Regions from separate parts of the Homo sapiens genome. Here region 1 is linked to region 2. The links are contacts of gene promoters, found by promoter capture Hi-C in human tissues and cell types (Jung and others, 2019). All regions are on one chromosome and are shown on one strand. Each heading gives the region's core, a stretch centred on a gene start or on the middle of the fragment in contact. The rest is flanking DNA. Distances are from core to core; before and after follow the strand shown.

Region 1 (6,339 bases), core at 250-2,749, 94 kb before region 2:
CTCCAGGTCATTGATCATTTTTTTTGTCCTCTCAAGTTGGGCCACTGTGTCCTTGATGCCCTTTTCCACCTTCTCTACCTACCCAAACCCTACCCGTTGATGTGCACGGCAGGAACCAGGCCTCAGGACCCGTCACATCCTGCGCAGAGACTGCCACAGGGCATTTCGCAGCAGAAGAACAAAACTGTGAAGTCTTAAAATGGAACAACCTTAAGGATTATCTCCTCCAATTACTCAATTTACAAATTTAAAAAATGCTTATTTAGCCTTTTCCCAGCTGCCGCCAAGATGCTCTGCCCTTCTGAGCTGAGGCTGCGTTGGGGTCAGGCCCTCACTGCATCCAGCACTAGCACTACTCCGGGCAGCCCAGCCTTGCACTTGTCCACACCACGGACTCCATCTCAGAGCTCGCCTGCACTGACTCAGCCCTCATTCTGTATAACGCTGAGGGGATCATCACATAGGATAAGGTCAATGTCGTTTCTAAAGCAGCTGGGGTAAATGATGACGGCTTTTGGCCTGGCTTGTCTGCCAAGGCCCTGGCCATCGTCAACTTCGGGAGCCTCCTCTGCAGTGGAGGGGCGGGGTGGGAAGACCTGCTCAGCAGCTGGTGGTGTACCTGCGGGAGGTCCTGCCCTTCTGTCACTGTGGCCTAGGCCGAGAAGAAGAAGGTGGAAGCAAAGAAAGAAGAATCTGGAGTCTGATGATAATATGGGCTTTTTTTTTTTTTTTTTGAGTAAACCTATTTTATAACACGTTCAATAAAAAGCTGAACTCTTAAAAATGCTTATTAAAGAGATTGTCACAAACCTCATAGCTACAATACTGATAAGAGTGATGGATAAAGGGTATGGGACTCCCAATCCAATGTTCTTTATTCTCTGATTCTCAGACTTCCAAGGGCTTTTGCTAAAGGAGCTTTATGAATTATGAAATCCCAAACGTCCCTCTTCACTCCTTTCAGAGAAATTGCAAAATAACATCTTGACTTTCCTTCCACCTCCTTTCTTTTCTTTCTTGGCTCCCAAGCTCCTTTTCCTTCTCCGCGGGCTTTTAGTCACAGCTTCGTGTACAGTTGGTAGAATGGCTTTGGGAAACTCCTATGATGCCTTTGGGCCTCCAGTTTTCTTATCTGAAAAAGGAGTATGTTGAATGGATGATTCCTAATGGCCCTGAACAATTTTTTTGTTGCTGTTGTTTCAAACCTAAGGTCTTGATTTTATGTCTTTCTTTTCCTCTCTGCTCTGTGGACCTATCAGAGCCGTGACAAATTGCTGGTGCTATTAAAATCCACTCTGGCAAACAGTGCTCTGAAATTAAGTCAAAAAGCTCATCAATATAAACAAAGAGTAAACTTAAATACTGAAGAACCCAAAGAAGACACAATAGTGTGGTTGTTGATGGGAGCATTTATTACCTCTGAAGCACACTCCCTGCTAAGTTCCATGTGTCTCAAATTCACACACACACACACACACACACAATGGGTGTTTATTTGGAAAACATGTAAAGTGAGAAAGTTTTATTCTTTAGCTCTAAAGCTTTTCATGTTGTCCTATAATTATAATAAAGTTTACAGTCTTTGAATGCCTGATTTGAAACAGGCAAGGCACTGTGCTGAACACTTTCCATATGATTTAATCATCGTTAGTAACATGAAGAGTTATGTGACTCTTCCCTATTTTACAAATGAAGAAACTGTGGCTTAATGAGTTTGAGTAGCTCAACCGAGGTCACTCACATAGTTACTGGTAGGTTTGAAATTAGGCAGTGTGATTGATTTCAGGGCCCATGCTCCTTTGTGGAATCTCCAAATATACTGCAATAATACATCTCTTAGGAGGATAGCTGATGGGGAGTGATAAAGTGTGCAGCTGGGGGAAGCTGAATTGGAAAAATGCTTTTTCGAACCTCATCTGTGATGGAAAAAATGGCTAATGCCAACATGACTGATGGTTTTGTGCAAATGCGGTCAGTTCCAGAAAAAAATTTGTCTTACATTATGAAACCTATATATTGTCCAATATTTCCTACTAATAGTGACAGTGATGTGATTAAGGAAACCCATTTCACAAAGACCTGCCTGGGCCTGTGCTTAATGACTACAAGAATGTCTGAGCTGAGCACACTGAAACCCACCTTGTCTGGGAATGTCACTACTCTGTAAATCAGCGAGGGAGGGGAGGGTCGTTTCCTTATTTGAAGAATTTCAATTTTTAAAAAAGAAAAAAAAATATGCACTATGAATGTGAATGCTAATAAATATGGTTTGAGAGTCTTGGAATTTCCCATAATTCCTTCAATTACACTCATTCTGCTTACAGAACCCAGTTTTGCACTCGTAAATCTCAACATTTCCTTTTAGTCACTTCCTTCCCATCCCTTCTTTCCTTGCGTGGCCCTGCTCTTAATTCCAGGTATGGCTGACCCAGAGCCAAGCTCTTGGGCCCTCTCTCTAGTCTCTTGCTGTGTTCCAGTCTTCACAGGTGAATCCTGGCCTCCCCCTCTCTGTACCCCACTCAAAACACTCATTTCTTCAACATGGCTCAGGTATAGGTATAGGGTGAGAAAGAGAGTTGATTAAAACTAATTTACACTAAGATCTGAATGTCAGATAATCTCTAGGCCTAACCCCAGGAATATTTTCTTTTTAATCCAAGCAAATCTCTAGATTTTGGCTTATGCTTCCAGACCAGAGACCTTCCTGTAAATGACAATGTTTGGTTTATCCTATTAAGTGTGTGACAGCAGCCAGATGTGTGTAAGCCTAGCACGGATTTGCATGCTCCCAAACTGATAGTTCCACCAGGGGCAGGTTGCAGGATCCATTCTCATGCTTGGAGTATTCTTCCCTTGTGATGGGGAACAGGTGCTGGGAGCCATGTGATTTTCTTTGAGCAGCTGCTGACTGGCTGGGGTTAGATGAGAGACTCATAGCTATGCTTCCTTCAAGAACTTTCCAAAGAGTGAGAAAAGACAGCAAAAGGGCTAGGCATGGTGGCTCACGCCTGTAATCACTGCACTTTGGGAGGCCAAGGTGGGCAGATCACTTGACACCAGGAGTTTGAGACCAGCCTGGGCAACATGGTGAAACCCCATCTTTACTAAAAATACAAAAATTAGCTGGGTGTGGTGGCATGTGCCTGTAGTTCCAGTTACTCAGGAGGCTGAGGTAGGAGGATTGCTTGAGCCCGGGAGGTAGAAGTTGTAGTGAGCTAATGCGCACCACTGCAGTCCAGCATGGGCAACGGGAGTGAACCCCTGTCTAAAAAAAAAAAAAAAGGACAGCAAAAGAACTGCTCCTCTCCTTATTGACATTATTCCCATCCACGTATTTCTTCCTTTATTTTTCCTCTCCTAGAAAGGAGAGATGGGGCTGGAATTGGGCTTGGAAAGCAGCTGCATGGCCCCAAACCCTCCTCCTGCTCTCTCTTTCTCTGCCCAAACCTTCCCCGTCTGGTTCTATTTTCTCTGAACTCTGCATTAGTTCTATCCTCAGCCTCCATTCTTCCCAAATCTCTTTCTTCCTGAGGACTGGCTATGTTTTTAGGGTGGGAAGACAGCTGGAGAATGCTTGTTCCTGGCCTCCAGCCATCAGGACCTAGAGGGTCAGGGCTGAACCAGCCTGGTTCAGGGGTGGGTGCCTCTGACCCAGTCACTCTGTGGGGAAGTCCATTCGAGCAGCCATCCGGCCGGCTTTGCTCACTCACGGAGCTCCAGAATCCAGTAAAATGCTAGAGTCTTGAAGGCATTCTCCTAGTTTTTGCTGCATGAATGGCCGACCTTCTGACAGACGGATGGACTGACTGACTGAATGAATGAATGGCTGTGTCTCTGTGTTCTTGCCATGGTTCTTCTTCACAGTGTGGCTTGGTTTTCTTTTCTGCGTGATGGCTGTAGCCTCATATTATCTCCCAACCCTGACTTCTTTCTGCTGTCTCATTCTTCTTTTTTTTGCCCACCATTTCAGTTCAGTCATTTGGTTTTTTTGTAATGTTATTTTACTACCATTTTTTCCTTGCTCTATCATCTGGCATCAGACCCTCTAGTTTTTCTCATGATGCTTCATAGGAAGAGCCAGACTTCCAAATCACCCACATGAGAATAGGGGCTCCTACTTCTTTGGTCACCGTAGCTATGGTTTTCTCCTCAACAATCTCTGCTTCAAGAAGAGCCAACAGCTCCTGACTTAATCCCCTGAACACCTTGCCCTGCAGCTCAAGCCATCCTTTGCATGTGAATTTGCCTGGTTTAATTCTTGGGCTTTGGAAAATCCCCACAGCCTAAGGATTCTTCCTGTCACTGAGTTTCTTTCCACCATTTGGTCTGCTGCAGAATTTCTGCCTCTTTCCTGACCCTCTGGACACCCTGACCAACTTACGCCGGTCAGACTGAGGTGGATAGAACAGGAGTTTATGGCCAAACACCATCAACATTCTCATTCATGGAGATTCAGAATCCTCACTTCCACTGTAAAGGCCTCTAGATGCCAAGAAGAAATTGAAACGAATAATTTAAAATGTTGCCTCTATGTCTTTCCACTGAATGCTATATCCATTGGGAAAATCTGACTTCATTTTTGAACTGGGGCTCATCTAATAGGCTTATGAGGGGGCACTAGGAGGCATCCCAGTAAAGGCTTGGCGACTAGAGTCACCTTTTACAGTTATAAAATTACAGCAACATTTGCCTCAATGGCTCCAATACAAGATAAAACCATTTTTTCCTGCCCATGCTGGTCTCCTCCATGAATTTGATACACCGGTGAGTGCTATGGTTAGCTTCAAAAGTTGGTGAGAGTAGGAACTGAGTTCTCGAATTCCTATCCAGCACTGGTCATTAGGGGGTTCCTCCTTAGTTCAACTGTTTCTCTCAGAATGAGGGTGACTTGATATGGAAGCTGAAAGCTGTGAGTCAGTCTTCTTGGTTCCAGCCTCCAGCTTCTGCGCTTCATTTTACCCCCTGGAAAACTTGACATCTTAATGACAACCTTGAGAGACACTGGGCTATGGTAAACCCTACTTAGCTGGAGTTGCATAAGGCTAAAATGTGAAGACTGGCAGGCACTTAGAGATCAGAGCTGTCAACCTGTCCTTTATATGTGAAGACAGCAAGGCTGAAGACGCGAGTAGTTCCCCCAAATCACACAGCTGGACCCAAACTCGGCTCCACCTCACCCATTTCCACTCCTGATCTTTGTGTGCCGTTTAGCAACCCTACGATGACATGGAAGTGTTAATGGCAGTATGTCCAGCTTTCACTGAATGACAACAGGTTTTGCAGAGATAAGGAGAAAGAAGAGAGGGGAGTAGTATCCTCAATAATTGCATTATTTTAAAAGTCAGAGTGTGCTGTTCAGAAGGGTTTGTCAGCAGGGCCTTACATTCTGAGAAATGAAGTTTGAATGATCTCAATTTAAAAAAATGTGGACTCCAAAGAAGAAGCTAATGTTACATGACCATGGGAGAAAATAATCTTTAATTGTTTCTCCTTGTTCAGCGAGTGGTCTCTCCGATGTGCCTGGTACACATCCAATGAGCAGAGGAGAGAGACAGGCTGCCACACCAACAGGCCAAGGAGCTCCAGTGCCAGTAACATTCAGGCCAGACCCAATGGCTCCTTCTTACCAGGAAGAAAACTGCCCCATCAAATTAAACCCCAGAGACAAGCTATAGAGTCAAAGTTTAAGAGCAGACCAGAGTCTACCAGATGCCTTTGTGCTGAACTACTTTGGCCTGAACCCTCCTGGGGTTTATGTGGGGCCACTTGGGCAGCTCTCAGTCAGCAAGAAGTTTTTAGATTATCTACCTTAGATGGTGACCAGGGCTCTCTAAGAAGGTGGTCAGAATAACCATGGACAGTAACCTTAGGCTTGCAACCTCAGGTTCACAGACAGACTTCCCATGACTGACATGAAATGTGTATGTCCAGAGATACATTTTCCTGGGAAGAGTCCTTAGCTTGTATTAGCTTCTCGCAGTGCTCTCTGGTGATGGTAAAGATGGTTCAGCCTGGATCCCAGGTAGAGAGGACAAGCTGTACCCTGGCTGGGGAACCTCACTTAGCCTGTATGTCCTAATGATAGAATCTAGCTTACCAACAGAGCAAGCAGATGTGATTTCGGTGCCTCTTTGGAAGGACTTCGCTAGTCTTTTTTTCCCCTATTTAACTGGGGCCTGAAATTGTACAGCTCTCCATTCATGTATCTGAGTAAAGTCATGTGTATGCTCACTTGAGAGTGTTGGCATGTGGAGTCTTTTCTGAACTTTCTGGCAGAAAACTTGAGTGGTTGGTAAAGTGAGGAAGGTGGCACTGAGCAGGAATGGAATTAGCTCTCCT
Region 2 (6,255 bases), core at 2,574-5,073:
ATTGGAAATACTATGATTAATTATTTAAGGCTTAAATTGGTTTGGACATAAAATCATTTTTTTTTCTTAGTGGCTGACCATAATTCCTTCCATACTGAATCCAGAAAATAAAATTAGCACAGATATAGAACATAAACAGACCATTATAACAAACCCTTATGAATAACCTAATGCAATAATAAAATCACACATTTGTCCAGAATAAGCATGGTACTTATTTTCAGGCCAAGAGAATTTGCATTCTGTAGCAGAGTGAAAATGGCATTCCACAGTCAGCCTAAGCACTTGGTGGAGACTCTGAGACTAGAGAGAGCAGATGCATTTAAATTGAACACGTGCTTATAGGCATTAAGAAAAGTTGACATTCTTATTAAAGAGACCAATTAATCTGCATCAGTTGGAAGCCACTTTACAGTCGAAAAAGTGCTCTAGGACCTAATATAAATGAGACTGGAGTAGAAAGAGAATGAAAATTCACTTTTCTACAAGGGAGCCTTTTCTAATTGCCCTAGAGCTGTGCTGTTTGAAATGCTAATCCTTCCTCTTCCATCCCGGACTGGGAGTCTGGGGTAACAGAAGCCGAGGAGGGTGAAGACCCCCAGATGCTAAAGTGAGGGGTGTTCAAGACTTACCAATGGGCATGACTAAGAAAAAAGGCAGCCAGCAGAGGACGAAGCAGCCGACCACGATGCCCAGCGTTTTGGCCGCTTTCTTCTCCCGGGAGAACTTGAGGAGCCTCACTGAGAAGTGCGTCTTGGTCTTGGCGCTGGCCATCCCGCTGCCTCCTGCCGGGGCGTTTTTCCGATGGATGCGGAGCGTCACTTGCTCCGAGTCCGACTTGTCGGTCTTGAGGCCAGACTTGAGGCCCCGGCTCTCCCTCTTGGCCACCACGTAGACGCGGCAGTACATGACCAGGATGATGGCCAGAGGCAGGTAGAAGGAGCCCAGCGCTGAGAAGAGCACGTAGCCCGGCTCCTCGTTGATCTGGCAGATGGTCTCGTCCTCGGGGGCCGGCTGCCTCCAGCCGAACAGGGGTCCAATGGATATGACCAGGGAGAGTGCCCAGACGCAGAGCAGAGCCATGAGACCCCTCCTCTGGGTGACGATGGTTGGGTAGCGCAGCGGGTAGCTCACGCCGATGTAGCGGTCGATGGAGATGATGCAGAGGCCCATGATGGACGCGGTGCAGCACAGCACATCCACTGCCGCCCAGATGTTGCAGAAGACCCTGCCGAAGGCCCAGTAGCCTAGGACCTCGAAGATGGCGGAGAAGGGCAGCACCGTGGAGGTGAGCAGGAGGTCGGCCACCGCCAGGTTGACGATGTAGTAGTGCGTGACTGAGTGCAGGTGTCGGTGACAGGCTACGGAGAGGATCACTAGGATGTTACCCAGCACCCCGAAAAGAATGAGGCCCCCCAAGATCACCCCGAGCAGAATGGCCTTGGAAATGTTCACCGGTGCCGGCGGTTGGGTGCAGTTGGAGCTGTCGGAAGCATTTCCCGAGAGAAACACCATGGTCCCAGCCGGGGCCGGGCGAGGTCCGGCTGTCCAGGGCCACCTCCCGGGCTGGCGCGGAGGCGGGAGCGCGGGAGCCGGGAATCAAAAGGTCTCGGCTGGAGGGAGCCCTGCCAGGTGGGTTTGGCTGGGGGTGAGAGCGCGCGCGCGGGTGGGAAACAACCCTGGCCAGCCCTGGGAACCCTCAGAAGGCCACATGAAGGGGCAGGGCATTAAAGACATGGCCAGGGGCGCGCGGGGCTGCCGGGGACCCTCTCCACCTGCCGGGCTGGCCTAGCCCGGGACCCGGACTCCCTCCCTACCCGAAGCTGGGTGCGAAGATCCAGGAGACTCCTTGCAACATGCAATTCCAGAATTACGAGAATCTGCTTTTCCGCGCTGTCTTATTCGTCCTGGCTGGGGGAAGATTCAGCATTCTGCACATGATTCGGAATTCAAAACTCCAGCGCCAGTCTCTCCCTCAAACCAAAAGATCAGCCGTCGACGCTCAAAGGCAGGGACCGATGGTTGGGTAGCGCAGCGCTACAGGTTGGGCGCTGCTCCTGGCCCGCAGTTACCTACATTTTGAGCTGCCCCACCGAAGGCTCCTGCTCTCTCCAGCTTCTAGGAGCACAGGTCAGGGGACGTAGGTGTGGAATATGTGCTGAGACCCAGGAGGCTGCGGGGCATCGTTTGACCGCGTCCACCTGAAAGAGCGCAAAGAGAAAGGCGGCTTTGAGCTAGGCGCCCCAGGGAAAGAGGCTGTGCTGAGCTTGACGGGTTGGGGGACACCAGTTGGGAGCCGGGTTGGTTCTGCGGTCCAGAAGCTGCTTCGCCCGGCAGCGGTGGAGGCGACTTCGGAGCTCATCTCGCGCCCCCACCACTGGGAACCTGCCTAGCGCACTCTACTGAGTCACCTCTGCCCGAGTTCAGGATCCGAAGCGAAAAACAAACAAAAAAACAAATCCCCAAAACCCCAGGCTCCAGCGCTCGAAGTCTGGATTTCGAGCGCAGGTACCACGAAATTAAAATCCTCGAAGCCCCGGAGGGGCGACTGCGGCTGGCGAGTGTGTCGCACGGATCCTAGCCGGGGAATTCTGGAGGATGTACTCGGTTTCCGTTAGAACAGGTTGCCTCGCAGTCACCTGGAGGGGGCGGCCTGGGAGAGGGAACAGCTGCGACCCAGGGACCTCAGGGCCAGGACCACGAGCACGCTCACTCTCACGCCGGTGGAATTCGCACTCGGGTGTGCAGAGCGCACCGGTCTGTCCACCAGCCAAGCTGGCTTGAGAGCCAGGTCCCGAGCGAAGCCGGGAGGGACCCGAAGACAGAAAGCGACCCAGGTCTGTCCACGACGCCTTTCCAAGCCTCACTGTTGGCCACCCGAGGGGCTCCAGCTGCCAGCCGTAGCGGGACTGGCGGGGGACGGGGTGGGGAGGACGTCCCTCTGCAGAGGGAGCTTTGCAAGTGACAGTCACTGCGGATTTTGCAGGCGTAAACATTAAGCCGGCATGCCAGCGGGCAGGGGCCGCCTTCGATTTTCTGGGCTGGGGGCCACCATCTGCGTAAGAAACCTGGGTTTCCACAACTGCGAACCTACCGCAGGGACTCGGCAGGACAGCGCGGCGTGAGGAAGTGCCCACCTTGCCTTCTGGGGTTGGGCCCTGAGGTGGGACCTCGGGCAAAGACTCTTGTTAAAATCGCAAGTTGGAGACCTCACAGGTGGTATTAAAAACGTGCCACTGCAGAAACCCTTTTCCTCCTACCTCGAGGGTGATAAACACAGGGTTAAAAAGACACTTGTTCAGTAGAAGGCAACTTCGCAGAAGATGTAAGGGAATCGGGGGTGGGGTAGAGGGGCCGGTATAAAACCTGGTGGAAAAAGCGGGAGGCGCTGGGAAAAGTGGGGGTTCCGTCTCACCAGACGGCGGGGGAGGTCTGCCCTCACCCACTCGGCCCTGCGGGACGCCGGCCCCGGCGCACTCACCTGAAGCGCCGCTGCTGAGCCACCAGCTCGCGCGCGGGGGATGTGGACCCGGCTTCGGTCCCGGGAGCTGCCTGCCTGCTCTTCTCTGGAGGCGGAGAGGGGACCGTGTCTCCGAGGCACCAAATCCTTGTCCTTTTGCACCCGCTGACTCACCCCTCCACCACTGATGTCTTTAAGCTCCTGAACCGCTGTCACTTTACCTGCATTTTTTAAAAAGAGTCAAAATAAGAAAAGAAAAAAAAATGCAGATAACCGGTAACTCCACAATCACCCTTTTAATATTCAGCTCCCCGACACCAGAAAAGAATAGCAAGGAACTTTGCAGCTCTCGCTGACGTAACTCAGGCAGTAGCCCAGCTAGTACCGTAATCTCCTGCTGCTACCGTATTACTCTACGGCAACAGGCACAAGTGCGTATACAGCTGTAATGTTTTCCTCTGGCCTAGAGGGGGTTGGGTTCTAGCGTTTCTTTAAAAAGGTTTGTGTGTGTGTGTGTGTGTGTGTGCGCGCGCGCGCGCGCGTGTGTGTGTGTAGAGTCATTTGTAGTAAATAACTTCTTTAAATGAGCTTTTAAAAATAACGAAAAATTGACACCCTTGCTAGATATTGCTGTGTGTATGGTGTGTTCATAGGAATGTGCTATAAAGTAACTTTGAACAGCTTGATTTGATTAACATTTGGCCTAGGTTTTGTTAAGATCAAGAAGTATATTAAGAATATTGTAATTCTAAATATGCAAGTAAATTATAAGGTGTTTTAAATAGCAAGTAAAATCAGATAAAATATGACAAATCTGATTGTAATGAAATTATATTTTCAGGAAGATAAAGTGGACATATCTAAACCTTATTTAATATGATTCACTTCTAATTTCTTTAGACAGATGAATTTTAAGAGCATTATGGCCACAGAGTTTGGTATTTTTTAAATGCCACACAATCTTTTCCAGTTTTCTTGAGAAAATGGTATCCTTTCAGGAGTGTTACTCTCTTTAATTCATTAATAGCTGGAGTATGAAAACCTAGCACCACCAGTCTTATTACTTTTTTTCTGGTAAATTACATAATCTGTTTACCTTGTGATTGAATAAAGTCACATGTGTTTCAGAATATCGGGAACATAGAAAAATGTTTCCCACTCCAATTCCCACCTCCTAAGTCATCTTTCATCTTTATTGATGCAGACAAAGTGGAATGTTCTTATTTACTAGGTCTCCTTAAACCTAGGAACAAGGAGATAACTTTAAGCAGTGGCACTTAAATTCTCTCCTGTGAACAAAATCATATTAATATGATTACCTTTTCTAAGTGAGATAATGTTTGGGAGGCTCTTTTATAGCAATAAATCTCAAAATGCCTCAGAGGAATGCCCATGAGAGGGTCAGTAAATCCTATGTCATGGAAGACCTAATATATGTATTTATTTCTCTATTGTATACAAAGTCCTCCACCTCTGCCTCATACCTGTAGGGATAGAACTCACACCTAACACATTTGATTTGAATTTAATATATTTTTAAAACTGAATTTCGTGCCATAGGAGGAGCATCCTGGTTGAACAGACAGCTCCACTTCTCATTACTAAGTCACCTGCTCTCTCTGGGATTCAGTCCCCTTAGGAGGAAGCTTGACCTCAATTCCCTGCACTTCTAGTACTTTATCATCAAATATGTGTATAATGTCTGTGCTTCCGAAATCCCATCCATCAGAGGGATATACACTGTTTTGTTTTGTATTCATTAACCTGATGCTGTGAATGCAAATTCTTCATTAAGATGTGTTCCATGGTAGATAAGGGAAGCAGTGCTATCAGCAAGCAAAGCAACTGAAAATTGCTCAGCTCTGCAAGGTCGAAAATTGCAAAAGTCTTTGTAACTCCCAGTCCCCACTCTACAACAATTAAGAATACACATAATCCACCCCTGCACCCACCTCCAATAATTAACTAGTTAATACTAAGATAAGGAAGAGCAGCTCTTCATGCTGCTAGCAGGTAGGTCTTTCAAATCTGCTTCTCAGCCTGTGACCATCAATCCTTGCAAAACGACCTCTCAGAACCAATTTTTCAGTCACCTACCATTGATTCACAAACAGAAAACTATCCATCTGTTGGTTACTCTTTAAAGAATAGTTGACGTGGACATCCCAGAAAGTGTCTGAGTTGTACACATGGGTAGGTGGAGTGGAGAGGAGTATGCTCTGGGGTCATAAAGATGCTATTCTGACCCTCCTATGCGACCATGGCAAAGCCTTGGTTTCCTAATTTTTAAAGGGAGACAATGAACCCCCACAAGGTTGTTATTAGTGTTGAAAGAAATTACGTTTCTCAAAAACTCAGCTCATAATATTCACTAACTCTATTATTAATCTTATTAACTCCCTTTCTGCTCATTTTGTATGCTACTTTATAGTGAAATATATTTCTAACCCAGGTAGTCCATGAACACTGGTAAATTCAGCTGGAGAATGTGCTAAGTGTCTTGAGCACTACACTTGAGCTAAGTGGTTTAATCAGAATGACCCAACATGGTTAAGTTGCAAGAGCTGGCCCTGATCACTGGCTGCTTCTTTTCTTCTCACTTTCCCCCTTGTTCTTTGTCTTGAGGGGCCATGCAAATGTGTGTGAACACCTCAGCCCCTACAGCCAGAAAGCTGCCTTCTTGGCCTCAGGCCTTGGGGTACACACATTTGTGATGTTGTCTGCCCAGAGAGAATGGACCTGAAAGTGATTGTGTGGCCATCTGGGGCAAGGGATTCTGAGTCCCAGGGCATGGT

The links. The method cuts DNA at HindIII sites, captures the fragments that hold promoters and counts their contacts. A contact is called where the count stands out against the background at its distance.
Region 1: a contact is called between a fragment that was not itself captured here and the fragment with the promoter of ADRA1A in region 2, in 2 of the 25 tissues and cell types used here (aorta and bladder).

The regions. Positions count from the first base shown.
Region 1 is chr8:26,771,401-26,777,739 of GRCh38, forward strand. All of the region lies in intron 2 of ADRA1A (adrenoceptor alpha 1A), which reads right to left. It also overlaps the pseudogene RPLP1P9. Among named protein-coding and RNA genes, the nearest start is that of ADRA1A, 93 kb to the right of the region's middle. The HindIII fragment of the contact is 7,858 bases long and covers 1-5,428 here.
Region 2 is chr8:26,863,455-26,869,709 of GRCh38, forward strand. ADRA1A (adrenoceptor alpha 1A) reads right to left here and starts at 3,824. Exons shown (of 3, transcript NM_000680.4): 1 at 3,482-3,824; 2 at 633-2,201. The coding sequence starts at 1,515. RefSeq lists an enhancer at 2,094-3,045. The HindIII fragment of the contact is 8,811 bases long and covers 1-6,255 here.